Regions from separate parts of the Homo sapiens genome. Here region 2 is linked to region 1. The links are contacts of gene promoters, found by promoter capture Hi-C in blood cells and fetal thymus (Javierre and others, 2016). All regions are on one chromosome and are shown on one strand. The core of a region is centred on a gene start or on the middle of the fragment in contact, and the rest is flanking DNA. Distances in the headings are between cores, read along the strand shown.

What was found. The method cuts DNA at HindIII sites, captures the fragments that hold promoters and counts their contacts. A CHiCAGO score of 5 or more calls a contact.
Region 2: a contact is called between the fragment with the promoter of KAZALD1 here and a fragment that was not itself captured in region 1, in 1 of 17 cell types (naive CD4 T cells). The highest score is 5.9, in naive CD4 T cells.

The regions. Positions count from the first base shown.
Region 1 is chr10:100,553,424-100,558,119 of GRCh38, forward strand. HIF1AN (hypoxia inducible factor 1 subunit alpha inhibitor) reads left to right here. Exons shown (of 8, transcript NM_017902.3): 8 at 1-4,696. Among named protein-coding and RNA genes, the nearest start is that of HIF1AN, 20 kb to the left of the region's middle. The HindIII fragment of the contact is 1,977 bases long and covers 440-2,416 here.
Region 2 is chr10:101,058,892-101,064,258 of GRCh38, forward strand. KAZALD1 (Kazal type serine peptidase inhibitor domain 1) reads left to right here and starts at 3,098. Exons shown (of 5, transcript NM_030929.5): 1 at 3,098-3,224; 2 at 3,651-4,212. The coding sequence starts at 3,702. LOC107984262 (a long non-coding RNA gene) reads right to left here and starts at 1,860. Exons shown (of 2, transcript XR_001747569.3): 1 at 1,219-1,860; 2 at 1-765. RefSeq lists enhancers at 1,741-2,035, 2,962-3,850 and silencers at 2,163-2,582, 3,763-3,812. The HindIII fragment of the contact is 11,916 bases long and covers 1,451-5,367 here.

The DNA.
Region 1 (4,696 bases), core at 178-2,677:
GTCAGATGTCAGGAGTAGAGATCTTAATGAGAAAGGCCCTGGCAGCTGGAGAGATGAGAGGACCTAGTGGTCAGCTTATACCCAGACTATCTCTCCACTCCTCCAAGAGTTTGAGTCCCATAGCTGATGAAAGAATTTACATATGGGCTCCCCCCTGCTTTCCCACTGAAAATCTATTCTCATATTTTGGGAAGGAGCATATGTCCTTTAACTTTCAATGGTAAACAATCTAGGATAGTGTTTAAAGGCATGGATTTTGGAGTCACATATAGTTGGTTTGAATTTCTAGCTTCACTACTTACCAGCTGGGTTTGACCTTGGTTGATTTACTTAACCTCTCTGAGCCTCAGTTTCCTCAACTATAATAACATGGGTGGAGGGAGGCATGTTGAAAATATCTACCTCAGGGTTGTTGGAATAACTGAAACAATGTTTGTAAAGCTTTAGCACAGTGCCTGGCAAGCACTTAATAAATGGCTGTGGTGGTGGTGGTTATATTTATTATGTGATTTATTCAGAAACTTGGTTTCAGTGATCTCTAAACAGATTTCCAGTGGTTCTTTCTCTCTCAAGAAAAGCATAGGGAAAAACGAGAAACACCTTAGATAAACCATATTGAGTTGAGGGTAGACAGAAGAGTCTAGTACCTAAACTCACCCTAGAGGAAGAGAAACAGGAAGTGTCTTATGCCTCTTCTGCCTGGGCAGCCAGACTTTACTGCTGTACTACCAGCCCAGGGCCTTGGGTGAGAAGGTTTCAGGTCTGAGCTCCCCTTGCACTGTGTGAGAGGCCGTGGAGCCGAATGAGTCCTTATTATACCTGGAGAAGCTGTTGTCTCCTCACACCATGAAATGTAATAGCAGTCAAATCAGGCCCCTCTTGATTCAATTTTAGTCCATGCCTTTCCATGTATTTAAATTATATAAGTGTTGGCCAGGTGTGGTGGCTCACACCTGTAATCCCAGCACTTCGGGAGGCTGAGGCAGGAGGATCACTTGAGCCCAGGAGTTCGAACCAACCTTGGGCAGCATAGTGAGACCCCTTCTCTTAATAATTTTTTTTGAAAATAATTTTTTAAAAATTACAAATATGGACCAGACACCTGGGAGGATTACCTCACGCCTGTAATCCCAGCACTTTGGGAGGCTGAGGTGGGTGGATCACCTGAGGTCAGGAGTTTGAGACTATCCTGGCCAACATGGTGAAACCCTGTCTCTACTAAAAATACAAAAATTAGCCAGATGTGGTGGTGGGTACCTGTAATCCCAGCTACTCGGGAGGCTGAGACAGGAGAATCACTTGAACCTGGGAGGCGGAGGTTGCAGTGAGCTGAGATCACGTCATTGCACTCCAGCCTGGGTGACTACAGTGAGACTCCCTCTCAAAAAAAAAAAAAAAAAATTATGAGTATGTTAAGATTGTTCTAGGGGAGAAGGGCAATCAAAATTCAGAAAAATATGAGTGGGATGTTAATAGCTACCATTTGTTGAACACTTCTGTTCCAGGCACTGTATTAGTTCGTCCCCATGTGGTGCTCTCAGATCAGTAGGGGAGACAGGCAGGCAGTTAGAATTATGGTGTATAGAGGAGAAGCATTGCACTATGTCCAGTTTTTTATGGTAGGCTTCCTGCAGAAAGTGATAAGTCCAAGCTGATATGTGGAAGATGAATAATTAACCAGAGGTTGGGGGATTTCCCCCTTAGCTTCTCTTTCTTCCAGTCCAGCAGTCCAAAACAAACACTGCTTCCCAATGCCTAAGGGTTTTGTCGTACCTTACTCCAGGGAATGGGTGAGACAGTAGATCCCAAGAAGAAAACCCTTTGGTTAGTCACAGAAATCTGAAAGTCTTGGTTGCTGGCTCAGATTTGTCCTGGAGTGGACGTAGATTGGACTTGCTTATTTGTAGCCCTCCACCGTTCTCATTTGTGTTCTGGCCTCTGGAGCCACCCTGCCAGACCCTACTTGGAAGAAATGTTGAATCAAGCTACTCAGACTTCAGCCTGAGATGTATTATGGCTGGCTGGAATTCTCAGCCCTTTCCACATCATGATCCCATTAATCTCTTGGGTCTATCCCCACGCCCAGCCACCTCTCCTCCTCACTATAAGCCAAGTCTCCCTGCAGTTCTCTATAAATACTCAGATCCTCTTGCCTCAGACCCTGGTCCCTAGCTTTGTGGGTGAAGAAGATACCTCTTTAGCTTGTGCCAACCCATCCCTCTGGGCTACAGGCCATTCTGTAGTCACCTTGCAGTCACGTCTTTCCTTCTAGATAACTGGCTCTGGGCCTTGGAAACCTTCTCTTTGGCTCTAGCTAATTTTGCTGTTTTATTCCGTTTACTTAAAACCTATTCACTTGGTCATTGAGGTCAGAACTATCAGGAAAGCTGTGCTCCTTAACCCATCATCTAAGCTAAGCTTGGGCCAGGTTTTTATTACCTCTTGAATATATATAGTGCAATATAGTGTAGTGGTTGAGAGTGGAGTCTGCATACCTGGATCTGCCATTCTGCATGACTTTGGGCAAATGGACAAACTGCCCGAAACTTGACTTGTTTATATGTATGGGGAAGACATCATTTACATTGTCAGGGTAAGGCTTAGCAGAATGACCGGTCCATAGCAAGGGCTCAGTCTTTCTGTGTCTCTCAGTCTTTACCTCTCTTCCCCATCTAGCTTTCTGTCTAAGTTCCTGTTTCTAGTCTCAGGGCATATCTAGTTGTCAGCTCCTGAGCAGAGCAGAGGTATAAGTGTCAACTCATGCTTGTGTTACCAGTTCCTACCCCTGTCAGTAACCTCTGATGCTTACAAGGATACTATCACCTATGCCATCAGTGGGGAATGACCTTCCAAAAATATTTTTAACAATACTAAAAATACCTGAAACATACTGGGTGAAAATAAGACATTGGAGCTGCTGCTCCCCAAGGAGATAAAAGGACAGTTCCTAAAGAGGCATTGAAGGTTTGTATGAGCCAGCAGCACAGTCAGAAGGCAAGAAGGAGACCCTGGGATGTGCACAAGGATGCAGGAGACGAGATTGTCACAGAGGCTGTCATGCTAGTAAGAGTCAGAGGTTACTGATGGGTAGAGATTGTCAGAGTCTGCCTTGCTAGTCTAGAGGTAGGACCATGGATTTAAGAACGTTGCCTCCAAGTTTTTGAATTGTGAATTTTTGATCATATTTGAACAAAACCCCACCTACAGTCTGCATGGTCATTGTTCTCACAAGGGTTTGTGTGATGCACTGACAAGAACAGAGGCTTTGGAGGTGACTCCTGGGTTTGAATCACCATTTGCCACTAGCTAATTCTAACCTTAGGTAAGTCAGTGTCTCTGGGTCTCAACCTCTTCCTCTGTGAGGGGTAGGAAATAGCACATAACTTGTAGCATTGTTATAAGGGCTCGTGATAATGTTTTTAAAACACCTGGCTCAAGCACTCAGGAAAATGTTTTATTATGAAGACCAAGTGTCTCTGAAAAGTGTTTCCTTAGTGTCTGGAGAGACTACAGCAGCAAGGCTTTTCTGATCCTACTCTGACTCTCAAGATAATGGTGCTTGAAGTGAAATCACAGAAGAGATGACTGGGGCAGGAAAAGCAAGATGGAAAAGATAAAGTTGTGGAAGGGACTGAAAGTCCATGAAGTGCTGGGCTGGGGACAGAAAGGGTTTAATAGGGCAGGGTCTTGAGGAACAGGAACAGAGACCTTGGTTCTGGGTTGCCATCTGATTCCCAGAAGAGTAAAGGAAATGGGGCAGGAGGATGTCTGTGGAGGACACAGTGTGGCTGAGTGGAGAGAACACAAGCTTCTGGCCAGTGAACCTAAGTGAGAATGTCAGTGGACTTTGCACAGGCTGGGTGCCTTTGGGGGTGTTCATCTCGCTATGCTTCGGTCCCCTCATTTAAAAAAATTGGTTAATAATATGATGACCTGCCAATGTGTGTGGAAATACTATGTAAACTGAGCACTATATAAATGCTGGTTGTTGAGATATTGGGAGTGGGGGTTTCGGGAGATTTTGTTTGTTTGTTTTTTTGAGATGGAGTTTTCGCTCTTGTTGCCCAGGCTGGAGTGCAGTGGCGTGATCTTGGCTCACTGCAACCTCCACCTCCTCCAGGTTCAAGCAATTCTGCCTCAGCCTCCCGAGTAGCTGGGACTCAGGCGTGCGCCACCATGCCTGGCTAATTTTGTATTTTTAGTAGAGATGGGGTTTCTCCATGTTGGTCAGGCTGGTCTCGAACTCCCGACCTCAGGTGATCTGCCTGCCTTGGCCTCCCAAAGTGCTGGGATTACAGGTGCGAGCTACCACACCTGGCCCTGGATTTCTTAATAGGTCCTCTTATGTGGCTATTGAGAATGAATGAGACAACTCATTAACTAACTAAGTTAATTCAGAACTTAGTGCCTAGTAAGTGCTCAGTAAATGTTAGTTTCTTTTCCTCCATTTCTTCTTAGGAAGCATCGTTTACCCAGCATAAACAGGAGGACTCAACTGTGCATGTCTTAGTGTGAACAAGTAACATCAGATTTCCCTTTTCTGAGGAGAGATCAGTTCTGTAAGAGGGAGCATGAGTGTGAATGGGGAAGAATCATGGAGAAGGGAGCAGGACTCCACAGTACTGGAGATGGAGTAGGGACCTCTGGGAATCGTTGGCATGGGGGTGTGGTGCAGAAAGGGTGATGCTAAGAGGTG
Region 2 (5,367 bases), core at 1,848-4,347, 510 kb after region 1:
GTTTCATTCCTGCTTCTTCCTCAAAGTTGCAACTCTACTATTTTCACCAGCTGTGTCAAAACAGGGTTTGTGAAGTGACAGGTTGAAATATGTGGATCATTTGAAGTAATTTCTTTTCTTTACCAAATTAAACAATGACTGTATGCCTTGTTTCATCTTTTGTTGTTCATCTGTATAGGGCTCTTTTCACTCTTTTATTTTTAAAATTCTATTTTTTATTTTTATTTTTTGAGAGGGGGTCTTGCTCTGTCACCCAGGCTGGAGTGCAGTGGCGTGATCTGGGCTCACTGCAACCTCTGCCTCCCAGATTCAAGCGATTCTCCTGCCTCAGCCTCCTGAGTAGCTGGGATTACAGGCGTGCACCACCACGCTGGGCTAATTTTTGTATTTTTAGTAGAGACAGGGTTTCACCATATTGACCAGGCTGGTCTCAAGCTCCTGACCTCAGGTGATCCACCCGCCTCCGCCTCCCAAAGTGCTGGGATTAAGAGGTATGAGCCACCACGCCTGGCCCTAAACTTCTATTTTTAAAGAGACATGGTCTCTCGAACCCTTGAGCTCAAGGGATCCTACTGCCTCAGTCTCCCAAGTAGCTGGTGCTACAGGCGTGCACCACCACACTCCAGCTCATCATTCTGTCATTATACTTCAGTTATTTCATGTGTCAGTGACTGAAAGTGAACGTATGATAATCTTGTGAACACAGGGCTTCACAGTGGAAAGAAAACTACATTCTATACCTCATTCCTTCTTCAATACAAGCATCTGCAGGAAAAGGGGAAAAAAGAGGCGGGACCATCTATTATTCAACAAATTTCAACTTCACCCTGCCCATCTGGATCTAGTCTCCCTCATTAAATGCAAAGGATGCTGCCACCTGGCTCCTCTCCCTAGCAGTATTCACATCATCTAGGCTAGAAAATCCCTTCCCTTTGGCCTGTTTTGCACAAAACCGAGTAAACATTTTCAAAGTATATATACGCAAAATCATTTGCTATCTCTTTACTATGTATGATGCGCATAGGTGTTACTGAATATTTTGGAGCCTTGATGGATAAAGTATGGGATGTTGAGGATCGGGGAATGTATCTAAACTTTCAAGTTGTGTCCTATTCAAAAAACTCCCTTCTAAAAGCATTTTTACGGTATGTAGGGTTTTAATGTAACAAAATCTCTACTTAATAACAGCGGATCCCCTTTTATTATCTTTGTGCCTACCTGGATGCACGGTTCCAGCATGTTCTCGTCACGAACCACAAGCCCACCAGAGGGCGCTGGTTCCCCGTCTACCTACTGTTCTCCATCAGCGACTCAGAAAATCCAGGTTAAACACTCAGGCAGTCTTTCACATTTAATCCACAAATATTTACCGAGAATTTGACGTGCCACCAGGCGCGGGGCTAGGTTCACAAGATACAGTAGTGAGTTAGGCACGATTCCTACTACCAGAAGCTTAGAGCATAGGGAAGACTAAAAGTAAGCCACCGTCTACAATAGTAGGATAAGTGGAGAGTTTCTAGGTCCGTGGAGTTTGTTGTTGAATATCTGCTCCAGGCCTTAGAAGCCGGCAGCAATTCACTAAAAGATCCCGGACTTGTCTGCTCTGTATCCCAGCCAAGGAGCTCCGTCCCCAAGGTGTTTTGTTAGAGTCAGAGACCTCTCCTTGGGTGATTCCATTCGTCAGCCCCACAAGTCCCCGTCTCTGGCCTTTTTCAGGGTCTCCGGCAGCTCTCTGACAGTTCCCCTTCTGTCTCAGGTCGACACTTATTCCAAGGACCAGGGATTACTCACAACTATCCGCCAGAGTTTGCTCCGCCCTTTCTTTTTCCTGTTTAAAATCCGCGGGCTCTTAGTGTTCTCGGTTCCTAGATTTCCTGTTCTGATTCTCGCGACAGTTGCGAGGCCTCGCGTGAAGTTCCCTTCTAGTCCCTATTTCGAATTTGAGACCGGGAGAGAGTGTCTGCCCTTGCCCACCTCCTCAGAACCCCTCTGGCCAGGGATGGCGCCTACGTGGCTCGGGAGCCCCTGAATGAATGGGCTTGGCCCAACTTAGGGGCGCATTCCGACGGGAGAGTCCTGGCTGTATTCCGAGGCTCCAGTGCGCATGCGGAGTCGATCCCGCGCAGGCGGGCGGGGACGGCAGCCGGGTCTTGTGGGCGGAGCCTGACTAAGTGCCGCCCCCTTGCCGGCTGCAGATTGCTATTTCTGCCCCCCACCCTCGCCCATCCCCCCGCGAGCTGGACTGCGCCAAGGCTTCTGTGAGCCGCTTGGGGCCGGCCGGGGCGGGGCCTGCCCGACCCGGGTTTGGCTGGCGGGCCCCTAGGAATGCTCTCCTCCCCGCCCCCGGCCCAAAGTGCCACGGTGGCGGTGGTGGCGGCCGCGAGGCCGAGTGTCTCCGGCCCTGCCAGCCTCGCAACCGTAACCTGTAATCCCGACCCGAGGGACGCCCGCCGGGGAGGCGCCAGCCCGCCTCTCCCTGCGGCCGCTGGTCGGCTCCGACCTCGAATCACCCGGCTCACCCGCGGGTCGCAGCACCTGCCGGATGTGGGGAGGAAGAAGGAGGCCAGATGAGGGAAGGCGGATGTAGGCGCCCAGTCTGTCCGCGCCTTGGTGGGGCAGCTGGGTGGGCAAGCCTGCGGTCGCTCCCGGGAACCAGCCCTGGGCTGCGGGGAGACGAAGGTGGTTGGTCCTGCCCTCCAGGAGCGCCCCGACATCGACGTAAAATGACTTGGCACCAGAGCTCCTGCCGCCTCCCCCTTATGCAGCTGCCCTCGCCGACGCCAGGGACTGTAAAATCAGATGGGACAGGGCCTAGCCGTTCAGCCAACACTTTGAGCTTCCCAGCCAAACTCCTACCCCCACTCCCCGCCTCCGGTCCTCACCCCCTTCCTCTCTCCCAGCCTCGGTGTCTGGTTACGGCTCCTCTGCTCGCATTGTGACTTTGGGCCAGGCTGGGGGAAATGACCCGGGAGGGTCCCATGCGGCTACATAAAATTGGCAGCCTTAGAACTAGTGGGAAGGCGGGTGCGCGAAGTCGAGGGGCGGAGAGAGGGGGCCGGAGGAGCTGCTTTCTGAATCCAAGTTCGTGGGCTCTCTCAGAAGTCCTCAGGACGGAGCAGAGGTGGCCGGCGGGCCCGGCTGACTGCGCCTCTGCTTTCTTTCCATAACCTTTTCTTTCGGACTCGAATCACGGCTGCTGCGAAGGGTCTAGTTCCGGACACTAGGTGAGCACTCTGTGCCCCAGGCCATAAGCGAGGCGGCATCAGCCCCCCCAGTTCTCACCCCCCATTAGCAGCTTCTTACTTCTGGAGCCACCCATTCTCTTTGGGCAAGGATGCTCAGGGGCCAGGGATCGGAGTCGGGTGGTGCACGGAAGTGGTGCTGGTGGTGGGTGTGCGTGCGCCTGAGCCTTATCACCCTTTCCTCACCTCTCTTCACTCCCAGCCCTCCCAAGAACAGCCCAACTGATTGCTAACTGCCATAACTGGATAATCCCTAGAGGGTCACTAGGCCTGTGTGTTGGGGGAGGCTACTTGGTAGCAGGGGAGGGGGCGATGCTAGTGTCATGCTTTGGTACAAGAAGCAGTGAGGTTGGTCTTTCGGCACAGGCCCTGTTTCTGACCTCCTGACCTGGCTTCCCTTCCTGGCAGGGTGCCCGAACGCGCTGATGCCCCGAGTGCTCGCAGGGCTTCCCGCTAACCATGCTGCCGCCGCCGCGGCCCGCAGCTGCCTTGGCGCTGCCTGTGCTCCTGCTACTGCTGGTGGTGCTGACGCCGCCCCCGACCGGCGCAAGGCCATCCCCAGGCCCAGATTACCTGCGGCGCGGCTGGATGCGGCTGCTAGCGGAGGGCGAGGGCTGCGCTCCCTGCCGGCCAGAAGAGTGCGCCGCGCCGCGGGGCTGCCTGGCGGGCAGGGTGCGCGACGCGTGCGGCTGCTGCTGGGAATGCGCCAACCTCGAGGGCCAGCTCTGCGACCTGGACCCCAGTGCTCACTTCTACGGGCACTGCGGCGAGCAGCTTGAGTGCCGGCTGGACACAGGCGGCGACCTGAGCCGCGGAGAGGTGCCGGAACCTCTGTGTGCCTGTCGTTCGCAGAGTCCGCTCTGCGGGTCCGACGGTCACACCTACTCCCAGATCTGCCGCCTGCAGGAGGCGGCCCGCGCTCGGCCCGATGCCAACCTCACTGTGGCACACCCGGGGCCCTGCGAATCGGGTACGCATGGCCCGGGGCCCCCACCCCAGCACTTAGGTTTCCTAGAGGCACTGCTCCCCGACCCCTGACAGCATTGGTCTCTGGCCAGCAGAGCAAAAAAGATAAGGCTATAGAGGCCTCGAGTCCAGTATAAAACCCTGCTCTCGCTACTGGTTCATAAAAGCTGCCACCTTAAGGTGGGGGTGGGGGGTGGAGTGGAGTGGGAGTCCCGGGCTTCGTCAGCAAGCTGCATTCGCTGAACCACGTGAAAGCTCCAGAGCTGGCTGGCAGGGAGAGACAGGTCCTCTGAGGGCGCAGGCACATAACCTATGGTTTGCTCAGAGACCCCCCCGACTTTTCCCAGACCAGTGGAGTCCAGGCAGCAAGACGGGTTCCTGTGAGATGCAATCACGTTTCATTCTTAGAGCAGTTTGTTCACCCAGTCTCCCCACCTCTCTGCTTTCTCCTGCTTTTAGGGATTAGTGAAGGGGAGCGGGAAGTTCTTTCTCTATCCCTGGGGACTGGGGTCCATTCAGGCCTCTAGCTTTCCTTGGTAGCTTTAGTAACTTTCACTTCCTGAGCCCGGGCTCTGCGTCTGGCTCGGCTGGGGCAGCCAGAAAACAAACACCCCGTGGGGGTCCCAGCAATTTCCTCCACTCCTGCAGGCTTCCTGCCTGTCGCACAAGTCCAGCTTCAGGTTCTCTGCCTTGCCGCAGGACTCCCCCAGGGGGTACTGAGGAGGGAACGGCTGCTTTTCCTCCTTTGGGAACTGGGCCTGTTTAGAAAAGGGGAAGGGGGATCTGGAAGGTTTTGATTACAGGCACGCAGGAAAGGCTGGGGAGGGTGAAATGAGGACAGGGGAGCAGTTAGGGACAGAGTGGCTGCCAAGCTACAATGTAGATGTGTGTGCTTGTTTGTGCATTGGGTCTGCATGAGGTTCTATGTGCACATGTGCATGTATACCTATCTCCACGTCTGCGTGGTACCCTTGTGTGTACCAGCATCCATATCTGTGTGTACCTGTGTGTGTCACGGTGTGTTTATGGATGTGTATTTACCTCAGCATATATTGTGTTCTGCCACAAGCATGTCCACAAAAATTTGTGTATCATGTCTTTGCCAGACTGGATGCCTTTGCTGGGCCATGCTATTCTCAGACCTCCCGCCTTCACCCCC